2 separate regions of the Homo sapiens genome follow, and region 2 is linked to region 1. Evidence: promoter capture Hi-C in 16 types of primary human blood cells and fetal thymus (Javierre and others, 2016). All regions are on one chromosome and are shown on one strand. The core of a region is centred on a gene start or on the middle of the fragment in contact, and the rest is flanking DNA. Distances in the headings are between cores, read along the strand shown. Region 1 holds the start of WWC2-AS2 (WWC2 antisense RNA 2). Region 2 overlaps DCTD (dCMP deaminase).

What was found. Contacts are between HindIII fragments. The CHiCAGO score rates a contact against its expected background, and 5 or more counts as called.
Region 2: a contact is called between a fragment that was not itself captured here and the fragment with the promoter of WWC2-AS2 in region 1, in 1 of 17 cell types (megakaryocytes). The highest score is 5.2, in megakaryocytes.

What each region holds. Positions count from the first base shown.
Region 1 is chr4:183,097,810-183,102,942 of GRCh38, forward strand. It overlaps WWC2-AS2 (WWC2 antisense RNA 2), which reads right to left and starts at 1,390. Exons shown (of 1, transcript NR_024008.1): 1 at 1-1,390. It overlaps WWC2 (WW and C2 domain containing 2), which reads left to right and starts at 1,448. Exons shown (of 23, transcript NM_024949.6): 1 at 1,448-1,813. The coding sequence starts at 1,683. RefSeq lists an enhancer at 207-501 and a silencer at 207-501. The HindIII fragment of the contact is 3,980 bases long and covers 296-4,275 here.
Region 2 is chr4:182,907,482-182,912,810 of GRCh38, forward strand. The region is part of intron 3 of DCTD (dCMP deaminase); the gene reads right to left. Among named protein-coding and RNA genes, the nearest start is that of DCTD, 7.2 kb to the right of the region's middle. The HindIII fragment of the contact is 1,680 bases long and covers 3,240-4,919 here.

The DNA of each region.
Region 1 (5,133 bases), core at 140-2,639:
CAGGCCTGTGAACCCGCAGGGGAGGCGGAGGTCGGTTCAAACCCTGCGAGAGCCCCTGCCCAGCGCGGAGTCCTGCACACGGTGGAAAGTCCTTACGCATTAGCGGGCAGGATTAAACGACTTCACACCACGAGGTGCAAGACTGGGCTTCGGGGCCTTCCTCGGTGTTGCTATTTTAAAAGAAGCTGCTCAGTAACCCAGAAGAAGATGACGGGGGACGGTGGTGTAGACCCGGCTGGAGAGGAGTCCAGGGCCTGGGAGGCGCCCCCTCTGACTGAGGGGCTGGGGACCCTGAAGCTTGGCGTCCAGGCCCCGCCAGCGCTGCACCCGGCATTGTCCCGCCTGGGGCAGGCGTCCGGTCCCTCGGCAGTGCGGGCCAGCACGTACGTAGTAGCTGCTGAATAAATAAATGCCTATGCAACAGGGAACGTCCCGGCCCACCCCGGCCGGGCCAGGGCCTAGGAAGGGCGGGCGTCCGGCGCCGCCGTGGGTCCCTCCGGCGTGGCCGCCCACACCTCCTGGCCACGGCGGGGCTGCGGTGGGGGGACATCCTGGGGCGGGCGGCTGGACGGAAGGGACTAGAGTCGGGGCGCGTCCACGGCCAACCGCCCCGAACCAAGCAGGGGAGGCCAGGGACCAGGAGCTTCCGGGGCCCCGCGGCTGGAGCGCCCGGACGCGAAGGGGCGGCGGGTGACGGGGCGCGGTGCGGGCGGCTACAGGGCCGGACGGGAGTTCCTCCGCTTTCCGCCGCGCGGCTCGCGGTCTCAGCCGAGGTCATCGAGGGCCAGGAGCCCTGGCGGAGGCCCCGCCGTCCCGGACCCACCGACGCACTCCCAGGGCTTGGCGCTTTCCCACCACCCCGGACCGCCCTTGGGGTGCCGGAGGGGCTCGGGGCGCGGCGTGGGGAGCCTTTGTGCCCTCTCCGCTTGTTGAGGTTTTTTCTCCGGAGGAGAGCTCCCCGCCCGCCACCCCTTTCCTCTCGAAAGTTTTGTGGTTTCCCTAGAAGACGAAAGAGGTTGAGAAGGTTGCGGAGACTTTTGCAATCTTCCCCGTCCAGAAACTCTAAAACCTCTCGGCGTTTGGCCCAGGGGAGCTATCTGGGGTCAAGGGGAGGGAGCTGGCCGCACATTCCTTCGCCCGCCTTCCTCCCACCTGGAGCCGCGGCCCCGCGGGGCAGTGCGTCCGAGCTGGTGCGGCGACGCCGGCAGCGGCGGGGTTAAGCTCAGGAATGCGGCGCGAGGAATGCGCATGCAGATGAGGCGGGCGGGCGCATGCTAATCGCATGCAAATGAGGGGCCCGCCGCTGCCGCGGCAGCGCCGCAGCTTCCCGGATCCGAGCCCAGACGGCGGCGGCTCCGGCAGCCTGGGCGCCGCGACCCTCGGCGGCCAGAGGGGGACGGGGCGGAGGAGGAGGAAGAGGCGGAGGCAGCGGCGGCGAGGGGGAGGAGGGTTCGCTCGCCGGCTCCGACGCAGACATGGTGGACTGATCCGCAGCGGGGCCGCGAACAGCGTTTCCTGAGGCACCTCCCGCGCGTGGTTCCGCCGCGCCCCGCGCCCTGCGCCCCTCAGCCCCTCGCCGGCGCCCGCGTCGCGGGTTGGCAGCCTAGCCCGGCAGCCGCGTTCCCGCCGCGTCCCGCGCCCGGTACCTATGGAGGCGCCGCTCGCCGGCGAGGCCGCCGACCATGCCTAGGAGGGCCGGGAGCGGTCAGCTGCCGCTGCCCCGGGGCTGGGAGGAGGCCAGGGACTACGACGGCAAGGTCTTCTACATTGACCACAACACCAGGAGGACCAGCTGGATCGACCCCCGGGACAGGTGGGCGCCGGCCGCGGGGGCGCGGGCCCGTTCGGACACGGCGGCTGTTGTCCCGGAGACCCGGCCGCGCGGGGGGCTGGGGCGGCGCCGGCCCGCGGTGCCCCGAGGGGTCCCGGGAGGGATGTGGGGCTGGCTGCTCCGGCGGGGCCGAGGAGCCGCCCGTACCCGGGCTCCTCCGCCCACCGGCTTCCCGACGCCCCTCCGGGGACCCGGCCCCGAGGCAAGGCTGGAGTCGCTGCCCCGGGCCGACGCCGCGCGCCAGGCTAACGGACCCGAGGGGCCACCTGAGCCCTGTTAGGAACTTCCCTAGGCTTCGAGGTGCCCACGTGGAGGCTGCAGGACACCTTCGGCCTCTGGGCGGCGGGGGTGGGCTAGGGCCTCACTGCCAGTTGGGGAACGAGCCCTCCGGGCCACCTGTGGCATCCCTCAGGCCGTCCTTGGCGCGGGAGCCTGGGCTGCGAGCTCTTGGCGGGGGCGCCCAGACTGGCCGGAGGTCCCGAGCTGGGAAGGGGCTCCCGCCCCCCGCCGGGCCCTGCTAGTGGGTGTGACTGACTTTGCCCCTCAGAGTTTAAAAACGCGCGTTTGGGGGTTTCGCTGTCTGTCGTTAGTCTTCACCTGAAAACTTGAACCGACTCCCAGATCGGGAACAGGCATATTGTGTTTGGAAGGGAGATGTAGTGAAATTAACGTTGGGTATTGAGGCACTCTGATTTGAGCTTAGCCTGGTTTCTTTGTTTTTTGTTTTTTAAATTGGTTCAGGAACTGAAGGTTCACAAATGTTTCTGTGTCCCATATTTTTTTTACCCTTAAAATTTCTTAGAATTATTGTAAGAATAATAGGAGGTATTCCTAATTATAAATTTGTAAATTATCCATTAAGGAGATATTCCTAATTGTAAATTTAAATAACGTGCCACCAGGGATAACTTCGACATTTGGACTTTTGTCATTTCTGAAAATTATAACTTTATTGAATGTGGCCCTTTGGGCTTTATATACTTTTTAGGTGCTTCTCCTATTTAACATTTTCCCTTTTCTCAATTTGAAGCTGAAATACCTAACTACTTTATAATCTCAGTTACTTTTGCCCTAAAAATGTTGTTTTTGAAAGCTACTAAAAGGCAATTACAAGAAAGTTATAAATAACATTATAAATTTATGGAACAATCCTTGTTCAATTATCCGTGAAGCTACGGGCCTAGGTTTCCCTCCTGAAATGAGAAAAGGCACCTGTGCTGAGGTTCGGTCTTGCCGCAGCCTGGCTGCCTGTTGCTGGCCTGATGAAAATTGTGACAGGCATCACACCTTCCCAGTGTCTCCAGACGTGCTAGTTGTTGTCATAAACTTCACGCTCCAAGCCAGTTATTTGACTTATGCTATTGCACTTTGAAACTACTTAACAGATAGTAAATGTCAGTGCTGATGGTGTGCACCCAACTGCGGCTTTTAAGGCACCTGTATAAATATTTGACTTTTACAGTTGTGTGGTAATTCTTTCTGCTTTCTGATACTTGGAGTTTCAGGTAATTGAAATAACAATAAATTCTTGAAATATTTAGGCATTCTAGGTTCTCTTCTTCGGTTTACATGCTTTACTATATTATCTCAGTTGTGTTTACCGGAAAGGATTACAAGAATATGTAATGTCTGGGTAAAGTAAATAGAAAGTGGAGTGAAATTATATGACTTGGCTATCCATATCACTACTTTTTTCACAAGTCAAGCATGTCCTTTATTTTAAACTCTTAATGGATTAGTAATTATTATGAACTATTTTCAGGAAACTGGATAAACAATTCATTGGATAGGGACAAATAGTTTTGACTAAGATAGCTTTTTATTTTTCCAATTTTCCTTGCAGCTGTTAGGTCTTAAATATTCAGAGACATAAATTTGACGACTTACAAATATTTCTGGATCTCAGAGTTTTAAAAGATACTCTGTTGAGATCAGAGTCACCATTATATACTCAGTTTAAATTTGATTATATTTTCTTTTAGGGCAATTAAGTGACTAAATCTTACTAAATAGAGTAAGAGCTGATGGGAACGTATATTTGGAGTAACTATTAACTCCTGTCAGTTTTGTTACACACTTACCAAACATATGGAAAGAGAGATGTTACACAGGCCAATAGGAGTGTGTGGATTCTTCTGCAGGATCAACTTACAAATTCTGAAAGAAAAACAACTTGATATACTATGGGTCTGCAGTACTTTTGAACTGTTTAAGCCATTTAATTAGAATGGTCACGATGATTTACCTTGCATATTTTTTATGTTATTCTGTTAAGGAAAAGAATTTTGTGTTTTTGATAGTCTATCAGAATTTGTTGAATATTTCTGATTATACAGATAATTATGCCGATTTAGTAGGGGAGGCTAGGGCATTTTATAAGAACATAATTTCATTCAACAGGTAGTCATGCCAGAATGCTGAAGCATTATTCTAAAATGCTTTTAAGCTTTTGGAGGTGAATGACGTCATTCAAACTTTGCTGGGATGTGATCAAAGCTTTTATTGCTCCACTTCTTACTTTTATTGACTAAGTTTACGTGAGTTTCTGAATCCCTCTAAACCTCCATTTTTCAGCTCTAAAATGAGGATAATATCATCTTCTTCATAGGGGTGTTTGTGGGCTCACCATTAGGGCCCAGCCTAATTGTATTAGTGTAGTGTTGACATTCCAGTTTAGGAACTGAGTGACCCTGGAAATAGTAGAAATACTAGCATGGACAGTATTTACTCAGTGTGTATTGTGTGCTAGGCACTCTGCTAAGCTCTTTAACTGTGATCTCATTTCATTCTCCCGTTGGTCCTGTGAGGTAGGTACTACTGTCATCTTCCAGTTACAGATGAGGAAATTGAGTCACAGAGAAGTAGCCCTTGTTAAGTGTGGAGCTAGGATTTAAAGCCAGACAGCTTGACTCTACAGCATGTGTCCTTAATCATTCCTTTAAATTGTCTCGACGCTTGCGCATGTTCAGGGGTCTTTGGGTGGAGTGCACAGAGGGGCAGAACCTTTTTGCCCAGTGTTTATTTTTCAGGCTGAGTGACTAGGCTAATCCTGGGGAAATCTCCCTGTTTGTGATTAATTCCTTGTCCCCCTACCCTGCCTGCATGGGCCCACTCCCCGAGTGTTATTTTGTAGGTTTACCCCCTCTTCTTTTGCTCACCATGGACCCTTTTGAACATACCAGTTGGTGTTTATGGTAGGCCATAGGTCTTGGCCAAATGGCCTGGTGCTTTTTTTTTTTTTTTTTTAATTACATTCAACAAAGGAGAAAAAGGTGGGATGGATTGGCTTCATTGCCTTTTGG
Region 2 (5,329 bases), core at 2,830-5,329, 190 kb before region 1:
TGTCTTTTAATCTGCATGTCTGTGGAGTAACCTACAGTCTGACTGTCCCCTCCTATTCATGCATCCTATCTCCATATGGTCTATATTCATCTTAGAACTGCGCCAGTCTTTAATCGTTAGAGGAGGGAGGGAAAGGCGCCTGTTTCTATTAATTTATCCATATGTACACATGCACATTCTCCCTGTGGCATTGCCTCCAACAGCTTTTTACAGCTCTGATTTGACCGAGAACGCTTTCAGAACTCCGTAAGCTGAGAAAAAGATACTAATCTAATGCCATCAAAGCTATAATACTTATATTTTTCCTTGGAATAAGAGAACTGGAAGAATCTTCAGTGATAATTTACTTCATAGAGATATTGAGAAATAAATGTCAGGTGATGCCTCTAACAGCCCCACAGTCACTGGGCATGAACATACCAAACCTGGAACCCTTGGCTCCTTACGGCGGCTCCAGGATTCTTTCGTGTGAATATGGCAATTGTTGTTTTAAGCACTATGGGGCTTTACTTAGCTAATGTGTGTATTACAGACATGCATATCCCTATCCAGATTAAAAAAAAAAAAGTCTTCAGGAAGTAAAAGTAAAAAGCAATACAAACATTTGCAAAAATCTCTAAGAACTAGGTTTTATTGTGTATTTCTGGGAGCAAACAATATATTCATATTCTACTTTAATATAGCTGGTATTAACAAAACTCCTGAAGGGAGATTCCGGATTAAAAAAAACTCAAAATACAATAAAGCTTTAGTCATTTCAGCCAATTTCAGAGAAGATCAGTCAAAATCAGCACAACTGACATAGAACAGATCACCAGAATCAAGACTATGAGAGTAATCATTCTCAGGTAACCACACTGTACAGCAATCCCTGTGTTTCTAAGCAAAGACTTAGCAAAGTTAAAGAAATAAAGAAGTGGCCGGGCACAGTGACTCAAGCCTGTAATCCCAGGACTTTGGGAGGCTGAGGCGGGTGGATCACCTGAGGTCAGGAGTTTGAGACCAGCCTGGCCAACATGGTGAAACCCCATCTCTACTAAAAATACAAAAATTAACCAGGCGTGGTGGCACGTGCCTGTAATCACACAGCTACTCCGAGGCTGAAGCAGGAGAATCGCTTGAAACCTGGAGGTGGAGGCTGCAGTGAGCCAAGATTGTGCCACTGCACTCCAGCCTGGGTGACAGAGCAAGACTCTGTCTCAAAAAAAAAAAAAAAAAAAAAAAGAAGAAGAAGAAGAAGAAGAAATAAAGAAGGAATATCCATTTGCATTCAGATCATTAATGTGCTCAAATACTTAACATAGCTGTTTTCTAAATTAGTTTGCATGTGCCCCTGACATTTTATCAAGGCTACTAATTTTTCAACAAACCTTTTATCTTGAGAGATTACAGTACAAAGATAAACTTCAGCCCACTTCTGGGAACCCTGGAACCACTACTTTAGATTAAGTTTTATTTCAAACTTCTACGAGGTGAACTGACTCAAAAGTCACTTTTTATAGAAAGGAGACAGATATGTGTATTTTCATGGGTAGGTCCAATCCCCAAACATTTCAGCTTTTCCTAACATGTGTGCTCTTCAAAACAAGGAGTTATTTTGTTACTATATGTCTTTCATAGATATTCATAATGAAATAGTAAACTCTAGCACTTTAAAAATAATTAACTCTGTAACTATAAAAATACATAAATATCAAAATAAATTATATTAAAATATCATTATTTATTCCTTTCTGAAAACTGTTTATAAACAATTATATCTTAAAGTAAAACATGCTTACATGGAGCTGGTTGATTTTAGTGGGTGGGAGAAGACTCATATATACACTGGTGTGTCCCTCTGTTTATCTGAAACCCCACACGATCACAGCTGAGTTTGCCCCTTGATTCGTAAAAATAATCTACTTAATTTCTTTTCTATGCAGTTGTTCAAAGGTTTTCCATTGATTATAACAGTAGTTTTGTACAAAAGTCCCTAATTAGACCTGCTGTCGGGCCACAACTAGTAGAAGGCCAGGCAGGGGAGGAGCGGCAGGAAGCTTTAAGTGAAATTAAATTCTGCAGGAAAAGAAACAGCAAGTTATCAAATTCATGGACTGACTAACGAAACCAGAGGACATTCAATTTCAGGACGGAAAGAACAAATTTGATCTTAATTACTAAGAAGCTCTTACAAGTTGTGAGGAAGTCATATCTTAAGAAGGATCAGCCTCCTAACTTCTTGATAAATTAGTTTCTCAACACTAACCTTTCAGATGCCAAAGAAATATATCACGTGCATGGCAGTCAGGAAAATGTCAGTGTTCAAGGGGGTAAAGTAAATGGCTAAGTAATCACAAAAGTGACATCTATGCATGCTTAACAATATGCTAAGTCTGAAAAATAAAGATGAAATTTAAATAGAGAATTTAAAGAGGCACTGCCCCACACTGGCAAAGGTGTTTAAGATGCTCTGCTGAACTCTTTCGCCTTAATTAATTCCAGGTTTTTCAGCATTTTCCTTCCCAGCATTACATCCTTTTTAGAGTATCCCTGTAGACATAGGAACTGACTCGGGTAAGAGCCCCACTTCTACCCAACGCACTCAGAGTGAGGCCTCCCCCGACTCTTGGGGACACTGAGATGCTACGGTTCCCTCCCTGGTGCAGTGAGATGCAGCAGGCCAAGCAACCCTGGCTCCCTGGTCCATTGGGTGGGATAGGAGGCCAAGCACAGAGGCACTCACCAAAACCCAGAGCCCTTTGCCAGCAGAAATCAGCAAGGCCACAAGTGCTGGGCAGCTGGATACATGTGGCAAGCATTACTAAAAATTCCCTTAAGTTTAACAACGGGAACAAGTTAATTCTCCAACTCTCTAATTTGTAAACTATATCATCAAAATCGGTTACGAAAACCCAAGGAAAGAGTGATATCTGAATCACCAAGAGTATTTTACCTCATTTGATAACATTGGTATTTTGATTAAATGTGCTTCACTATAATGAATTCCACAAAGAAAAAGGAATGAAAAATGTCAACTGAATACTTCATCACAGGTTTAGCAACCCACCCCCTCATGAAAATAAAAATCTTCCCAAGTTTTTTAATCTTGTAAATTAGATAAATCTGCTGCTTCCTCTTTTTTAATTGTCATTCATCTGAAAAGATTCTTAGTATAATAACATTGCCTTCTTCCTGCCACTTAATGTTACTGACATCATATTATCTTTTGGATTTTTCAGGAAAAGGATGGAATAAAAAGCTTCTTTAGCAGAGGGAATTTTCATTTTCCACATTAATACTACATTATAATAAAATAGTTTTATGAAGTTTTGATCCCAAGACTGGAAGAACAAAAACACCCTTTAAAAATAACTCTCTAGAGACACAGCCCAGGAAAAGCTCCATCTTCCTATTATGTTACAAGTAGTGTGTGTTTCCCTCCTCCCCACAAGGCATCAATCAGGACTAATGACTTCCGACTTACGGAATTAATAAAGCAGTATTAAGCTGTATGTTATTTGGTAAACTCAAATTTACACAGTTCTCAAGCTCCCTGTCACAGTCCCTTGGGGCTGCTATAACAAAGTCCCATAGACTGGGTGGCTGAGAAACAATGGACATTTATTTCTCATGGTTCTGGAGGCTGGAAGTCAGGACACCAGCATGGTTAGATTCTGGCAAGGTCTCCTTTCAGGGTTGCAGATAGCCATCTTCTCCGCCTATCCTTGCACATGGAAAAAGAGTAACTGAGCTCCCTGGGGTCCCTTTTAGAAGGGCACTAATCCCATTCAGGAGAGCTCCACCCTCATGGCCTAATTACGTCCCCCCAGGCCCCACCTCCAAATATCAGCACATTGGAATTAGGGTTTCAACATGTGAATTTGGGGGGAGACACATTCAGTCCACTGCACTCCCCTTTGAAGAAATGTTACAGTGAGCCACGCATGTGGCTTTCTGCATGATGCCGGACACAGGCCACCCCTCCCCGAGCTCCTGATCTCTGAGGAGTAATTATTTTATCGGAGCCTCAGTCTGATCAACTGCAAAAAAAAATGAGACAATGATTGGCATTTCAGTACAGCTGAATTCATGTGCCCCACAGGAGAGACACAGGGAGGTAGCAGGAAGAGCACTGACCTTGGAATTAGGAGATGTCACCCTGCATGTGTGACATTATAGAAGTTACTTACAAGAAAGGAGGAGGCTTAGATCCTGTGGGCATAGAACCCTGAGACACTACTAAGGTATTGCAAGGGGTCCAAGCATATCCACAACTGGATAAATCCCATGTCCAGGACATACATAAACTTTTCCCAAACATACATAAATGCTATCCAATTAATAAAGTTCAGATTAACAAAAAATGTTACTGATACGAAGTAGTTTTTGTCATTGTGGAGTTTCTTACTCAAAAGATACTAAGAATTTAGCATTATGCAGGGGTCCTGGAAGTTTTTCAGCATTTAAAAGAGGGTCCTGTACATTCAAAAGAGTTAAAAATCATTGTCCAGAACTCGAGATAATCTCTAAAGCTCCTTTACAGGGATTAACCTATGAATTTACCCTTCCTGCTACAGCAGCTCAGTCACCATTAATGTAGATGAGGAAAGAATGGGTTGAGCTATCCAACTCCAGGCAGTATCCCCTTATTTTTTAAATTAATTTTGAAAATCTTAAAACGAAAGCAAAAAAAAAAAAAAAGACTTTGCATTTGAGTCAATTATCAGCAAACATTTCTGTGACATCCCAGGCAATCCAAACATTTACTTCTCTGTGGCCTGAAAAACCTTGAGAAGACAACAAGTGTACAGTTTATACACAGTCATCGTCATTTAGACTTTAAGCCCATCTTTACTGTATTATGGCGGCAGTAATACTAAATGCCTTTTAGAAACCATTTAATACCTTCTACAACTTTTATGGTACATCAAATTACAAGCTTACTCTCGTGAAAGAAAACTGTCGACATTCTAACACAGCTACATATAAATGAATAATTGATAAGTAAGAGCAAAGAGCTTTGAAAACCTAGAGGTATCATATGGATAATAAAAAATAATGCAGACAGACAACCAGTGCCCAGGAGCTCAGGAGCTATTCAATAAAAAACAATCGGTGAAGTTGGACAAATACCTATGCAGGTTTTTAAAAAAATTCCTTCTAGAAAGGGGCTCTGAAAGGTACTCTCCTCAATTTGGACAAAAGGCAGTGTCTCATAACCAACAAAATCAGCTACACGGGAAGTCAGGAGAGCTGGGAAGTCTGGGGTGTGGGGCAGGTGCTGCAAATGTACTGCATGGCCCTTGGCTTCCAGGTCACTGCTTAAAGATCTGCTGGGGGCTCTGGG